2 separate regions of the Homo sapiens genome follow, and region 1 is linked to region 2. Evidence: promoter capture Hi-C in human tissues and cell types (Jung and others, 2019). All regions are on one chromosome and are shown on one strand. Each heading gives the region's core, a stretch centred on a gene start or on the middle of the fragment in contact. The rest is flanking DNA. Distances are from core to core; before and after follow the strand shown.

What was found. The method cuts DNA at HindIII sites, captures the fragments that hold promoters and counts their contacts. A contact is called where the count stands out against the background at its distance.
Region 1: a fragment that was not itself captured here is called in contact with the fragment with the promoter of NEDD4L in region 2 in 1 of the 25 tissues and cell types used here (lymphoblastoid cells).

What each region holds. Positions count from the first base shown.
Region 1 is chr18:58,762,182-58,769,775 of GRCh38, reverse strand. All of the region lies in intron 1 of LOC105372146 (a long non-coding RNA gene), which reads left to right. Among named protein-coding and RNA genes, the nearest start is that of LINC01926, 48 kb to the left of the region's middle. RefSeq lists enhancers at 855-1,004, 5,353-5,622 and a silencer at 1,085-1,234. The HindIII fragment of the contact is 6,881 bases long and covers 2,290-7,594 here.
Region 2 is chr18:58,041,335-58,048,115 of GRCh38, reverse strand. It overlaps NEDD4L (NEDD4 like E3 ubiquitin protein ligase), which reads right to left and starts at 3,890. Exons shown (of 31, transcript NM_001144967.3): 1 at 3,408-3,890. The coding sequence starts at 3,455. RefSeq lists silencers at 3,256-3,805, 3,826-4,195 and a cis regulatory region at 6,085-6,497. The HindIII fragment of the contact is 3,203 bases long and covers 2,353-5,555 here.

The DNA.
Region 1 (7,594 bases), core at 4,481-6,980, 720 kb before region 2:
TTATAATTATTAGGGGTTCAAGTTCTGTCTTGCTCAGCTTTCCAGCTCATTGAAGGCTAAAGACCCAGTGCATTAATTGCTCAAAAATTTGTCGTAATTGCTTGGAACTTTTCATTTACATCCTGCAAAGATTATTTCTGCCATAACATTGCAAAGTTTTCAAATAGCCTTGTTCCCGTTTCTGAATATGGGCAGGGATCCCTTTGGGGTGCTCACTGACCACTCCCAGATGAGCCATGGGTTCTGTCTGGGCTGTGTATGGGGAGGGCGTGGAGGGTGGCATGACGGATGTACAGAGTGGAAGCCCTCAGGACAGAGGTGCCCTGGAAAGTTCGTAAGGCACAGCGGCTGCAAAACCTCTCACGCCCACCTTAGAATTCCCAATGTACTTTCCTCAGTCTCCAGGTCTGTCTTTTCCTTATAGTGTTTCTCAGTGTCTCATTCTGTACGTGAGAAATCCCAGTAAAAATCGAGAGTGGGAACAATGCAAAATAGAACTGTATACTTAAAAATGGTTAACATGGCAAATGTTATGTTTTACAAGAATTAAAAATAATAGTTAAAAAAGCCGCAATTATAAAAACAAAAAACTAGAGTAGGAGGGACCTAGGGACCTCTATTCATGATTTGACATCCAGTTTGGAGAGGCCAGAGTCAGGGAAGCTCCCTGCCAGGATTTCAGTCCTTTTTGTTTTTCCCTGCTGGGTGGGTAGTTTTCAAAACTCCGCTAGAATCTAAACGCTTTTGCTTCCGTGCCCTGCCCCCTGCCCCAGGGGCCCCAGATGGGTATCTGGTTGACTGTTCTCAAGGCAGGGGCCTCCCTCCCAGGAGATTCGGTGGAGCTTTTTGATATTTCTCTGCCCTTTGGCAGCATCACAGGCATGGGCATGGGAGAGGAGGGAGCCGGCCACTTGTCCTGGCCTGTTGATGCATGCCCGAGTCTGGCTGTCATCCCAGCCGCGCTGGCTGCTGTCCCTCGGTCTTCCTGAGGGCCCCCAGGCCTTCTAGGTATTGTATTGAGCCACGAGCTGGACGGGGAGGACCTGGATGTGCGTGGGAGCTCGCGGGTGGGTGAGAGCGCACCACTGCTCCGTGCGCTGCGCAGCTGCAGGGCCCCGGGCAGGTGCAGACGGCGCTCAGACCGGGACGAACGCAAGCCTGTGCTGCCCTCTGCTGGGTACCCAGCTCCCGGCCGGCCCCGAGCTCAGAAGGCGAAGGGAGACCCAAGGCCAGGCTGGGGCCCACGAAGCCGGGCTCCTCTAAGGGGTGCACCCAGCTCCCAAGGCCCCCGGGCGGACTTCGAGCAGTCCCCGCGCGGGGGCCCCAGGGTTTCTCGCTGGGCCCATCATGCCCTCTGGGCTAGGTGGCCAGGACTGTGCTCTCTTGCCTAGGGACCGGGTGAGCTCGAACTGTCCCCATGGGGCGGCTGCGGCTCCTGCAGGCTGTGCCGTCCTGGGCTCCTTTTCCGACATTGCCACCTGCCCCATTTCCTTTCCAAAGCAGAGGTGTAGGCGCCTGCCCACTATCAGTCCCTCTTTGTTGCAAGAGGCTCTGAAGGGCCCTCCCGCCTCCAGACCATTCATTCCCGTCTGACTCTGCAGCCAGACAGATCTTTCCAGAACATTAATCTGATTCTGTCATGCCCTGGCCTGACCTCCTTCAAAGTCTGCCAATTGCCAAGAGGGTCATTACAAAACTCAGCATGAAATACAAAGGACTTCAGATCTGGTTCCTGCTTCTCTTCCACCTTTTAACCCCCAGCATTATGGTCTCTTATGTCTGTCATCTTCCTGTCGAGACCAGAGGCCTTGCGCTCTGGAGCCACACAGCCGGAGTCCTTTCCCAGCTCTACTATTTGCTAGCTGTCTGACCTTGGCCGAGTTTCCTCTCTCTCTCTCTCTCTCTTTTTTTTTTTTTTTAAGATGGAGTCTTGCTCTGTCGCCCAGGCTGGAGTACAGTGGTGCGATCTCTGCTGGTTGTAACCTCCGCCTCCCAGGTTCAAGCAGTTCTCCTGCCTCAGCCTCCCAAGTAGCTGGGATTACAGCTGCACACTACCACGCCTGGCTAATTTTTTTGTATTTTTAGTAGAGATGGGGTTTCACCATGTTGGCCAGACTGGTCTTGAACTCTTGACCTCAGATGATCTGCCTGTCTTGGCCTCTCACAGTGCTGGGATTACAGGCGTGAGCCACCTCGCCAAGCCCCAGAGTTTCCTCTCTTGCCTCAATTTTTCATCTATAAACTGGGGATGATAACAGTAATATGCTTCATAGGGTTGTTGTTAATATTATTTGTATATAGAATATATAAATATATGCAAAGCACTTAGAATAGTATCTGGCACATAGTAGGCACTTTATAAGTGTTAGTCAAGATTATTCACTGAAAATGTGGGGTATCTCAGTATGTTGCCCAGGCTGGAGTGCAGTGGCTGTTCACAGGAGTGGTCATGGCTCACTGCAGCCTCGAACTCCTGGCCTCAAGGGATCCTCCTGCCTCAGCCTCCCTAGTAGCTGGGACTACAGGCACGTGCCACTGTACTCACTGCAACGTCTTCCCTTTGACTTCAACTTCTCCTGTTCATCTGATGACTTGAATAGCCATTTGAGCAACCTATCCAGCAACCTCAGATCAGTTCCTCGATCTGAATCCCAGTGACCTTCACTTCCAATTTACTCAATCCACCCCCACTCATGACCACCCCAGAACTGGCCAGCACTTACACTAGCAGAAGTGTTTTCGAAATCTTACACTTCAGTATTCCACCTTCTGACAACGCCCACCTATCCTTCCAGGTATCGTAATGTAAATGATTTTTTATTTGCTCATTTTCTTTCCAGGTTATCCAGTTTTTTTGCCTCTCCTTTTACTATCAGATCTTTCTAGCTTTTAAAAATTTTCCTGAGTGTATACATTACTGATCCCTTGAACTTTTTTCAAGTTCTTGAACTCTCTTGCACATCCATTCCCTCATTTATTCACTCAGTAAACATCCACTGAGCGTCAGGGACTGTGTCAGGGACGAGGACACATGATGTCTGCCCACAGAGCTTAGAGTGAAAGAAGGCAAAAAACACGTTCACAATTATACAACTTTGCATGAGAAAAATGCTGGGAATGAAAGCAACAGGCTGCCAGGTTGGAGAATAAAGTGGAGAACTGCAAGAGGAGAGTCTTCAGGGATGGCTTCAGAAAAGGTTCTTTGAATGTCACCAAATTGAGGCCATATGGAAACATTGACGAGGATGGTTTTTTGTTTTTAGGAGAAAAGTGTTGGGATTGAAACACTTTCAGAGTTAGTAAAAGTGGACTGGGTGCAGTGGCTCTGATGCCTGTAATCCCAGCACTTTGGGAGGCCAAGGTGGGTGGATCCCTTGATTCTAGGATTTGGAGACCAGCCTGGGCAACACAGTGAGACCCCATGTCTACAAAAATTTAAAAATTAGCCAGGCATAGTGGCACATGCTTGTGGTCCCAGCTAATTGGGAGGCTGAGGTGGGAGGATCTCTTGAGCTCACTGTGATTGCGCCACCGCACTTCAACCTGGATGACAGAATAAGACTCTGTCTAAAAAAACAGAATTAGTAAAAGTGACAAAGTAGAGATACAAGTAGAAATAGAGATGGCTCACCTAGGCTCTGTTTTGGCAGTTTAGAGAGGGGAAGCAGAGAAAATGGCAGATACTAGAGCAGGCAGGACTGGCTCCTTGTTAAAAAATTATTAAGAATTTAAAAACAGTGACGGCAGAATATTAAACCAGGCACAGGGTGCTGTGTGTCTGTAGAGGTCTCATGCCCACGAAGCTGGCTCTGACAGCATGCCTGTGTGCCAGTGAGAATAATTGGTCAAAATGAGGCATATTGATCATATTAGAGGGGAGATAACCAAAGAAATGAAATTTAGGAAAGACAAAAAGGAGATGGAGAGGCTGGGCATGGTGGCTCACACCTGTAATCCGAGCACTTTGGGAGGCTGAGATGGGAGGATCACTTGAGCCCAGGAGGTTGAGACCAGCCTGGGTGACATAGCAAGACCCTGTCTACAAAAATAAAAATAAATTAGCTGGGCATGGTGACATGTGCTTATAGTCCAGCTACTCGGGAGGCTGAGGTGGGAGGATTGCTTGAGCCCAGGAGGTTGAGGCTGCAGTGAGCTATGATTATACCACTGTACTCTAGCCTGGGCTAGAGAGTGAGAACCTGTCTCTAAAAGAAAATAAATAAAAGGGGATGCAACCCAGAGTCTACGTGGAGGGGTTAGACAGGAGTGACAAGTCCTCCATTGTAACAGGAAGAAAGAAAACTATCGATGCAAGAGGGTTAATAATACGCTGTGATGGCTTCAGTTTTTCAGTGACGGGTGAAGCAAGGCTCTCAGGAGTGGGAGGGTAGGAGGAGAAGGAGAATGAGGGGCTTAAGTAGAGAGAAGTGTGTGGAAGTTGGTGGGGGTTGGAGTTTTGCCAGTTGAAAGTAAAAGAATGGATCAGGGGAGTTGGTGTTTGTGAGAGCGAATAGACGAAACAAAGAATCTGGTTAGACAAGAAAATAAGTCGAGATTTGAGTGAAATAAGAGGGGTCAAGTGTTAGCATCTTGATTCTGGTGACTTGTGATATTGAAGGGGCACTTGAGAAAGTGGGCTGAAAGATAGGGCTTTGTAATCAGAGAGGACAAAATTTAAATCCATGATTTTGGAAGAGTGTAATTTTTGTGATGACAAGGTCCAGGATATCTCTTGGGTGGTGTATGGTTGGGTTACAAGAAGTCTCTGTGGATGAGGAAGCCAAAGAGCCAAGAGAAGAATTGTGTGGGTCATCAACGTGGAGTTGAAATTACCAGGAATGATGAGGGCATAGGATGGAGCTAAGCTTTCAGGTCAAGTGCTAAGTCTTCACTCTTCTCTCAAGATGGGAAAATAATGCACCATTAAAATTATTTTTTCTGCTAGGCACGGTGGCTTACACCTATAATCCCAGCACTTTGAGAGGCTGAGGTGGGAGAATTGCTTGAGCCCAGGAGTTTAAGACCAGCCTGGGCAATATAGCAAGACCCATCCCTACAAAAAATAAACAAAATTAGCGGGGCATAGTGGAGAATCACTTGAGCCCTGGCGGTCGAGGCTGCAGTGAGCCGTGATCAAGCCACTGCACTCCAGCCTGGGTGACAGACACCCTGTCTAAAAAAAAATTTTTTTTTCTTGCAACAGCATTTCTAAGTTTTGCGAACTCCTCTCTCCTCCCACTTCATTAGAGAGATCAAATCTCCGTGGGACTGAAGGGGGCACAGTTCTTCCTTTGAGCCAGGAGGGGGAGCAAGAGACTGCAACAGAAGGCTCTGAATCTAAACGAAGCCTTTCGGAAGACAAAGGGGTGGATCACAAAGGAGCTTGCGGTTCCCCTCCGCCTTTCTGCATTAGTTTCCTAGGGTTGTTCTAATAAATTACCACTAGCTTGGGCCTTACAATAGTGGGCATTTATCCTCTCATAGCTGGAGTGCAGTGGCTCCACCTCCTGGGTTCCAGCAGTTCTCCTGCTTTAGCCTCCCAAGTAGCTGGGACTACAGGTGTGTGCCACTGCACCTGGCTAATTTTTGTATTTTTAGTAGAGATGGGGTTTCACCATGTTAGCCAGGCTGGTCTCGAACTCCTGACCCTCAAGTGATCTGCCTACCTCAGCTTCCTAAAGTGCTGGGATTACAGGCGTGAGCTACCACGCCGGGGCCAATGATTTGCTTTTTTAAAAAAACAAAAACCAAACAGCCTCAGAAATTTTGAACTACTTTCTCTAAAAGAAACCAGCTTTATTGAGAAATAATTCACATGCCAGACATTCACCAATTTAGTATATTTGTAGATCATTGATCATCACAATCAATTTTAGAACATTTTTTTATCACCCTAAAAGAGTCCCCATACCCATTGGCAGTCCCTTCCGGTTTCTCCCACCTTCCCGGGCCCCCAGTCCCTGGTAGCCTACCCTATCACTAGAGATTTGCCTTTCCTGGACTCTTCACAGAAATGGAGTCAGACAGTAGAAATGCAGTCTTTTAAATTATTTATGGGCCGAGCTGGGCGCTGTGGCTCACGCCTGTAATCCCAGCAATTTAGGACGCCAAGGTAGACAGATTACTTGAGGTTAGGAGTTTGAGACCAGCCTGGCCAACATGGTGAAATCCCGTTGCTACTAAAAATGCAAAAATCAGCTGGGCATGGTGGTGCACACCCCTAATCCCAGCTACTGAGGAAGCTGAGGTAGGAGAATCAATTGAACCCAGGAGGCAGAAGTTGGAGTGAGCCGAGATCATGCCACTGCACTCCAGCCTGGGTGATAGAGTGAGATTCTGTCTCAAAAATTAAAAAAAAAAAAGATTTATGGTGAACAGCGGGTTAGATGTCATTCTTTTGATTTTAGGGTTGTATTCAAGTATAAGACTCATTCTTTTCACAATGAGCGGTTAGAGCAGCAAAGCTGTAGATATCTGAAGACTTTGAGAGCTTAGGGAATAGGAGGATCATCTGGGGTCCCCCCTTTCTCTCTCCTTCCCCCGCAGCCCTCTCCTTTGCCACCAGCAGCCGAGAGAACAGTCTTGGGGGAAAGAAAACACAGAAGCTCAGTGCTGCGGGGAGAGGGGAATGAAGGCGTGATAAGAGACATGCGGGGGCTGTTCCTGGCTCGCTCACCTCCTTGTCCTCTTCCTCACCGAAACCACAGAGTCTCCCCCAGCCTTGCAGCAGAAGTGTGGTCGTGCCTCTGCAGTAAGCTGGGTGTAGGACTGGCTGGCCAGCATCTGCAGTCTATGCTGAGTACCTGTGCCTGGGTGACCCTTCCCCCGCGACTCCAGTGTGACCTTCCTTCCCAAGCCTCTTGTTGCCCTGGGGTCTTCCACATTCAGCTGTGTCAAGCTCAGGGAATACAGGAGGAAAATGGGATCGCCTCAAAGTTAGGGGCTGGGGGATGAGTTGCCGCAGGTACTAACAGGCAAACCTGCCCTGTTCCTCCAGCCGGGTGCCAGTGGTAGTTGACAGGGAAAGGGCCCTTGAGGAAGAGAGCAAGTGGGGAGAGAGAGGGAGAGACAGAGAGGATGGAGAAGTTGGAGGTCTCTGTGGTGGCCCAAGGGGGCAGTGGGGCCTGGAGGAGGTGGTTGGGCATCTGCTCCCACTAACCCATGGGCCACCTGGTCCCTTTGCCACGGACCCTGCTATGGGCAGCCATGGTGGGGTGGAGGCGTGTCCCTGGCACCCCCATGTCTCCCCGCATGAGTTTCCTGAGGAACCTGTGGGCATCCCGACGCCCTCTGGGTTTCACCTGGAGGACCACTGCTCACAAGTGGCCTCTCCTTATTTCTTTGAGCAACTTGAACTCTGTGAAAAGAACGTGGGCTCCACGGAGGCCTGTGCCAGCGGAGACAGGAAACATCACCGCTGTTTTCAAGATGGTTCCATTCACTCTTTGTCCTAGTGACCCTGTACTCAGCTCCCATTGTGATGGCTTGGGCGGGGGGATGGGCATGTTTTCTGGATAGTTCCACTGCCTCTGCCCCACTGCATGCAAGCCTGGTCAGCCTGGTGAGGGAGGGCATGCTCAGGCCCCCACCAGCC
Region 2 (6,781 bases), core at 2,641-5,140:
AAGAGGCATTCAAAAGTAGCCAACTATCCGTGTTTGTACAGGATAAGGAGAGAAGGTGCCATTTATCCTATGTCAGCCTGGCCTTCATTTCTATGCCATTTGCTTCATTTTAACTACTAACGAAATTACTTAATGTCATATCTAATGTGATAAGAAGCTGCCATTCAATCCCAGTATTTTGTTCAGTAGAAAAATCTTTTCAATAAATGATACCTTTCTAAAATGGAATAAAAGATTTCAGAAAGTTAGCGGTAACATTCATAAGTAAACTATGCCAAAATGCACTACAGATTGCCAAAAATAAAGAAATAAAACAAGAAATCCACAAGGACTCAAGCCAGATGCAGAAACTAGTCCAAAGTGTTCTGATTCCAAACCAAATCTGATCTTGGGCCATGAATCAGAAGTTTTGTTAAACTGCTAATCCCTCTAACACCAAAAGTCCTTCATCTGATGGTTTTGAATCTGGCTACCTAAAGTGACATGACTTAAATCAGGGTAAATATGAATTATAACTCACCAGAGAAACCTCCGCCCGAAACACACAGAAAAAATTAAACAGCACATACATTCACACAAGCAAAGCCCACATCTCAACCCCTTACCTTCTACAAAGTGGACAGACCTCTGCTGATGACGCAAGGAACAGCACCTAAGCCCTGTGCTTTGGCATCCCCGTTTTCTGGGTTCATGCAATGCTTCATCATCAGCAGTGCAGAGAGCTCAACAGTCTTTATGAGATGGGACATAACTAAGTGCACTCCAAACATACCATGCTTTTCAACAATCTCAAATCAAAATACGAATCTACTTTTAAGAAATGTGGTAGGTATGTGTGTCTACTTTGCTAAAAGATTTATGAGGTCACTCTTCTAAATAGCGGTCAAAATATCTTCATATGTGATATTCTGCAGCACACCAAGTCTGCAAACTAAGTGTACCCATATTTAATACGCCTTGGAAGAACAACCCTGCCGTTTGCTTCAGCGGGCATTCTACTTTCAGAGCCTGCTAAAATCTTCCATTGGTTTTTCTTACACATACTAATTCAGGGAGACAAAACAAGCTGTGCAAATTCAACAATTTGTCGTTAATATTCTACGAAGGCATTCCCTGATTCTCTGAAGGGCAACGTGACAGCATGAAACTGCCCATGAAAAACAAATACCAATGAAATGTGAAGTCATCAGAACTGCCCTGGCTTATTTTTTCACTGGTAGGAGAAAGTTGAAAAAGGAAGACGGCTGAGACTCATCTTGTGAAATACAATGTGTGTGGAACTAAATACTACCAGCGACATGGCAATAAATAGATAATAAAAGGTGTCTTCATCACCTCTTGCTATTTCCTATACAGCCCCAAATTCCCTTCTAGCAACATGCAGGAGTGAATCCAGTCACATGCCAACACACACTCGGACTCTGTTTACATTCCAAGCTTCACTTTCACACTAGACATCAGTTATGATGATTAGTAGTGACTCCTGTGGACAAAAGTGGCAAGATGTGCTCTAGGTAGATTCTGACACTCACTGCCAATGTAAATAAAGCACAAACAACAGTGACATTAACGTGTTTCATTTATCCAGCTGCACTTCCCAAAACACTCTTAAAATCGTTTTTTCGGGGGAGTTTTTACAAATAATCATGTTATTAAAACATTTTTTAAAAGAACCTAGGATGAAATGCAGCTGTCCTCACCCCCACCCCCCACAATACGTCAACCCAAGCAGCCCCTTTGTTTAGGAATGTCTGCGTCTCTGCAACTCAGGGCCTGCCCTCTACTGCCACTAATTAAATGGAGAAGTAGAGGATGCAAGGGAAAGCTCCTCAAAGAGAGAAGCCAGGAGGGAGAGGAGAAGCCCCCCGGGTCAATGAAACAATGCTACTGTCACCTATCCCCAGGTAGTTACACAAAACGGGAAATTATTTTACAAAAGCACAGCGAGGCAAAATAAACACACAAATCACACATTATTTGCACTGTGATCATTCTTTGATCAAATAAATACATCAAGCTTTGCCTAGCACCGCTAAGAAAAAAATTCATACCCTAAACACCCTTCCCACCCCAAAATACCTTTCATTCCACACTTACGTAGCACACAGGCACACACACACACCATGCCAGGGTAGGAGAGCCGCAGAAAGCGGAGCCATAACGCGAGCCTGTCTCAGATAATAGCCTTTCTTCCAACCCCACCCCCAACACGAGAGAAAGAGGGAACCTCTGAAAAGAAAGGAGGGAGGGGAAGAAAGAGAAATCGAGAACGCCTGAATTTCCAGGCATCAACTTTTCATGAAATGCACAACCAGGATAGGAAATACCTCCCTGCTGAGTAATGCTTCTTGGGTTGTAAAATTCACCTCTCGAAAGGGGAGCCAGACCTGAGCGCGCACCCCGCCAGATGGCAAACCACTCCTACCTGCTCCATCCAGCCTGCCTGTCACGCCGCGCCCGCGACAAGCGTCCCACCCCCCTTTTTGGCAGAGCAACATACCAATAAGAGCCGAGCGTGGCTGGTCGAGAGAGGACTAGGCAGTGATTTAGCAGGATTGTTTCAAAAGGGGGGAGTGGGAGACACGGAAGAGAGAATGAAGGTAAAAACAAAGCCCTTTCCAGTGAAACCGACCGCCTGGGAGGCGTGGCTTATTCAGTCGCTTTATTAATAAAAGAGATCAATTAAGCTTTCCTCTCCCCACCCACCCTGGAGGTGCCGGGCTTTGAATCCTCGGGAGGAAAAAATGGCAGGGCTGCAAGCTTCCTCCCCAAGTTTCCAGGAGCACCTGCCACCAGCCTTGAACACCTCCCCCACCGAGGCTCCGAAATCCACAATCCTGGCCGTAGACTTTGCAAAACGAGGGGAGGGACACACGCAGCGTGTCCCCCATTCCCGCCGGGATAAGCACGCACAGGCTTCTGAGCGCCTGCTGATCCACACAATCATGAGAGAGAAAGTTCCAGGGGGAAACGATCCGGCTTCTCCGCAGTCCCGGGTCTCCAGCCGCGCGACCCAGACGTGACATGCATCATGGACTCCCGGGCTGCAGGGGCGAGAGGCGGAAAGTTGCCCAACAGCCCCGGGAGACGCTGCTTGGAGAGGAAGAGGGAAGAGAGGCACGCATGCCCCCTCCCTCTCCTCCCGAAAGCGAGGAGCTGCGGAGTGAACCCCCAGCTCCAAGGGCGTCGCGCCGCTTTATTTACAAACAATGAGCTCGGCTTGCGGAGGGTGGGGGGTGCGGAAGGACCCAAGCTCCCCTGGATCCCGCTCCGGGGCGCTCCCGCTTTGGGGCTCCCCTGCAGACGCTGGGCACGAGCACCCCGGGGACGGCCCCTTTCCCCTCCCCCTGCCGGCGCGGGATAGGAACTCCCCGGGGAGTCCCGAGCAGGAAGGGGGTGCCACTCACCTCGTCTTCGGAAAGTCCATAGACCGGCTCCCCGAGCCCGGTCGCCATGGAGCCGGCGCCCCGCGCGGGGTCTGAGGCGCTCCCAGCGGCTGTGCTGCGGCGCGGACGGCCGGTTCTCCCCTCTGCCTCCAGGTCCCCCCGGTCCCGCACCCTACCCTGCGCACGCCCTGCCGGGTAAGCGGCCGGGCGCCGGCAGGTGAGGGTGCCCGAGAGCGCGCCCTGGACGCTGCCGGCACCGCTTCCTCCCGGAAGGCTGCGGGACCAGCGGGCGGGCGGCTCCCGAGAGCGCGCCGAGCACCGGGCGGCAGCCCCGGCGCCTCTCACTGCGCGCGGCGGCGGCGCAGACCCGGCCGGGCTTTCCCTCCCCGCGACCCGCGCCTCCCTCCCGCCCCGCCGCTCTCCGCCCCCCTCCGAGCCTCCTCTGCGCTCCCGGGGACCCGGCTCGCCCGCCTCCTCGCTAGCGCCGTCCGGGCCCCCGCTCTCTCCGCCCCCTCCTCCGCCTCCTCCCACCGGCGCCGCGAGGGTACCCTCCCCGTTCGCCGGGGCGGGCACACGCGCCCCCCAAGCCAATCACAGGCCGGGCTGGCGAGCGGGCCGCGGGCTGCGGGGGTGGCGGAGTTCAGCCCCACGCCCACCCCGGCCCGGGGCCTCCAGCGCGGCGCGGCGGGGGTCACCCGGCCGCGGGGCGGATCCGCAGGGGCGTGTACTGGCGCGCTTGGCCGGCGCCGCCGACCCTCCCTCCTCTCCCGGTTTCCCTCCGCTTTAGGGAGGGGGCGGGCTGGACGTTTGGGGGCGATAGAGGATTTTGCGAACAATAACAAAAACGCCCTGAGCGTTTCTTCCTCCCGGTGGTCTTTTTACCGAGAGCCCTGAGCTCGCTGTTAACTGTGAAAAGGGGAAAAGATGGATGTTTCTAGACCCCTTTAAATTCTTTGCGGCCCCGACGAGCAGGACTTGGCTACATTGTCAGCTCCCGGGAGCGAGCCGCCCGGCCCGGCTGCCAGCCGAGGAGAGGCTGCCCCAGTGTGGCCGCAAGTCGCCATTGCCTGTGTCAACCTTGCAGGGAACAAAACCAACATAGCGCCCGCCCCGGTTACACACCCACCCACGCGAAAACAGACAGCATGGTTCTTTGAATAAAAAGCAGTTCATTTGTGAGCCGCAACGTGAAATATCAAACTCAAGCTTAAGGTTATCCTTTGCATATGCAAATGATCGAGACGTCTTATTAGCCACCGTAGGATTCTTCCCACCACCCAGCTACCGTTTCTCTAGCAAGCAGTTCATTTAATCCTTCCGATTTATAGGACTGCAAGAGACTACTTTAAATAAGTGAAAGAAATTCGTCAGTCGACTTTTTCGGAAGCCTTTCCTTAAATTTAGATGTTAAGTGCAGTTGGGAGTTCAAAAAGAAAACAGACGCAGAACATTCCATTTGCCTTTGAAAAGGAAACGTCAAAGTGCCTACTTGGGTATTACCAGGATGCATTTAGGATTTTCATTCAAGGAAGTTCAGAGAGAACTCGCGTGACCCGAAGGAATCATATTCCTCGTTGCCAGCTACATAACTAAATATCTGCTGTTCGCCCTGCTAGTTCGTTTTCAAAAGAGCCCACCCATGCTACCTTAAGCTCTCCTTTGCCTTCCTGCAGCATGACTGGCTTAAAACCTGTGCCGTAGAATGGGTTTCCTTTGACGACTTAGCCCCATGGAGTCAACATCCTACTCAGAAGCCTTCTCTAGAAGTCTTGAGCCGTCAAGTCCACAGTACTTACAGGCCACAAAACCCCCAATGAGAACTATTTATGGAGGACTATTTAAAAGTCAGATTTCTGTCCATTCTTTCAATACTGAGGTTTTTCAACCCTTTCAAACCTCGAGTCTTTAGACCGGGCACGGTGGCTCAAACCTGTAATCCCAGCACTTTGGGAGGCTGAGGCGGGCGGATCATAAGATCGGTAGTTCAAGACCAGCTGGCCAATGTGGTGAAACTCCATCTCTACTAAAAATACAAAAATTACCCAGGCGTGGTGGCGGGCGCCTGTAATCCCAGCTACTCGGGGAGGCTGAGGCATGAGGATCCCTTGAACCTGGGAGGCGGAGGTTGCAGTGAGCCGAGACTGCGCCACTGCACTCCAGCCTGGACCACAGAGCGAGACTCCGTCTCAAAAAAAACAAAAACAAAAAAAAACAACCCTAAAGTCTTTTGATAAACAAAAGGTACACGTGCACACTCTGTCTTTCTCTCTCTCTCTCTCACACACACACACACACACACACACGCATTCTCAGATGCCCTTGCCCTAGCCTGTGACCCTCATGGATGGGAGTCAGTGCTTCTCTACCTACCCTCACTAGCCAAACCTTTGTAAAATTTGTACAGTTTATATTATAAAGGAAGAAAAGTAATTGAATAATAATGCTAGCATTTTGGGAGGCAGAGGCAGGAGGATCATTTGAGGCCAGGAGTTCGAGACCAGCCTGGGCAATATAGAGAGACCCCTGTCCCTACAAAAAAAAAAAAAAATTAAAAATTTGCCAGGTGTGGTGGCATGGGCCCATAGTCCTAGCTACTCAGGAGGCTAAGACTAGAGGTTCACTTGAGCCCAGAAGTTCAAGGTTACAGTGAGCTATGATCGTGCCATTGCACTCCAGCCTGGATGACAGAGAAAGACCCTGTGTCTCTAAATAAATAAATACATAAATAAATAATTCTTAAAATGTGCTGATAGAAAATTATAATTTCTAATTACACAGGACACGCCTTCCACATCCTGGAGGTACACAATTCCAGGCTTCGCCTTTGGGTAAGGCTATGTTATCTGGAAACTGTAGAGGGGTGTGGCAGTTTCTCTTCCTGTCTTTTATCATCTACTCCCACACACCCACCGCAACAGCCTATAGCCCTGCACTCAGGGTCATGTCCTTGTCTTTCCCTGAGGGATGGTTATTAGGAACTATAATATGAAACTTGCCATATGTCACTTATTGTGGGGTGTTTATAAAATCGTGATCCATGACATCAACATCCTCTGTGAGAAGACTAATAAACTAGACATTTATTTCAGATCTATGAAGAAAAGCTCTTTTGCTTTCAAGAAACTGGTAAGCTTTTGCATGGCAGATGACCAAAATTATTAAAACCGACTGTGTTTTTCTATCTACTTTGGCCACCAGGAAGCTCAGAACCAGTTTCATGGTCTTAAGCCATAAAAGAACCCATTAAAAAAAATCCCTTTTGTAACTATATACCAACTTTCCCCCAGTGCTGTGGTTCTCTACTCAGCATGTACATTGCAATCACCTGGGGAGCTTTCAAATAGACTAAGTGCCCGGTAACCAGCATCAGAGGCTATGATTTAATGGATTCTGAC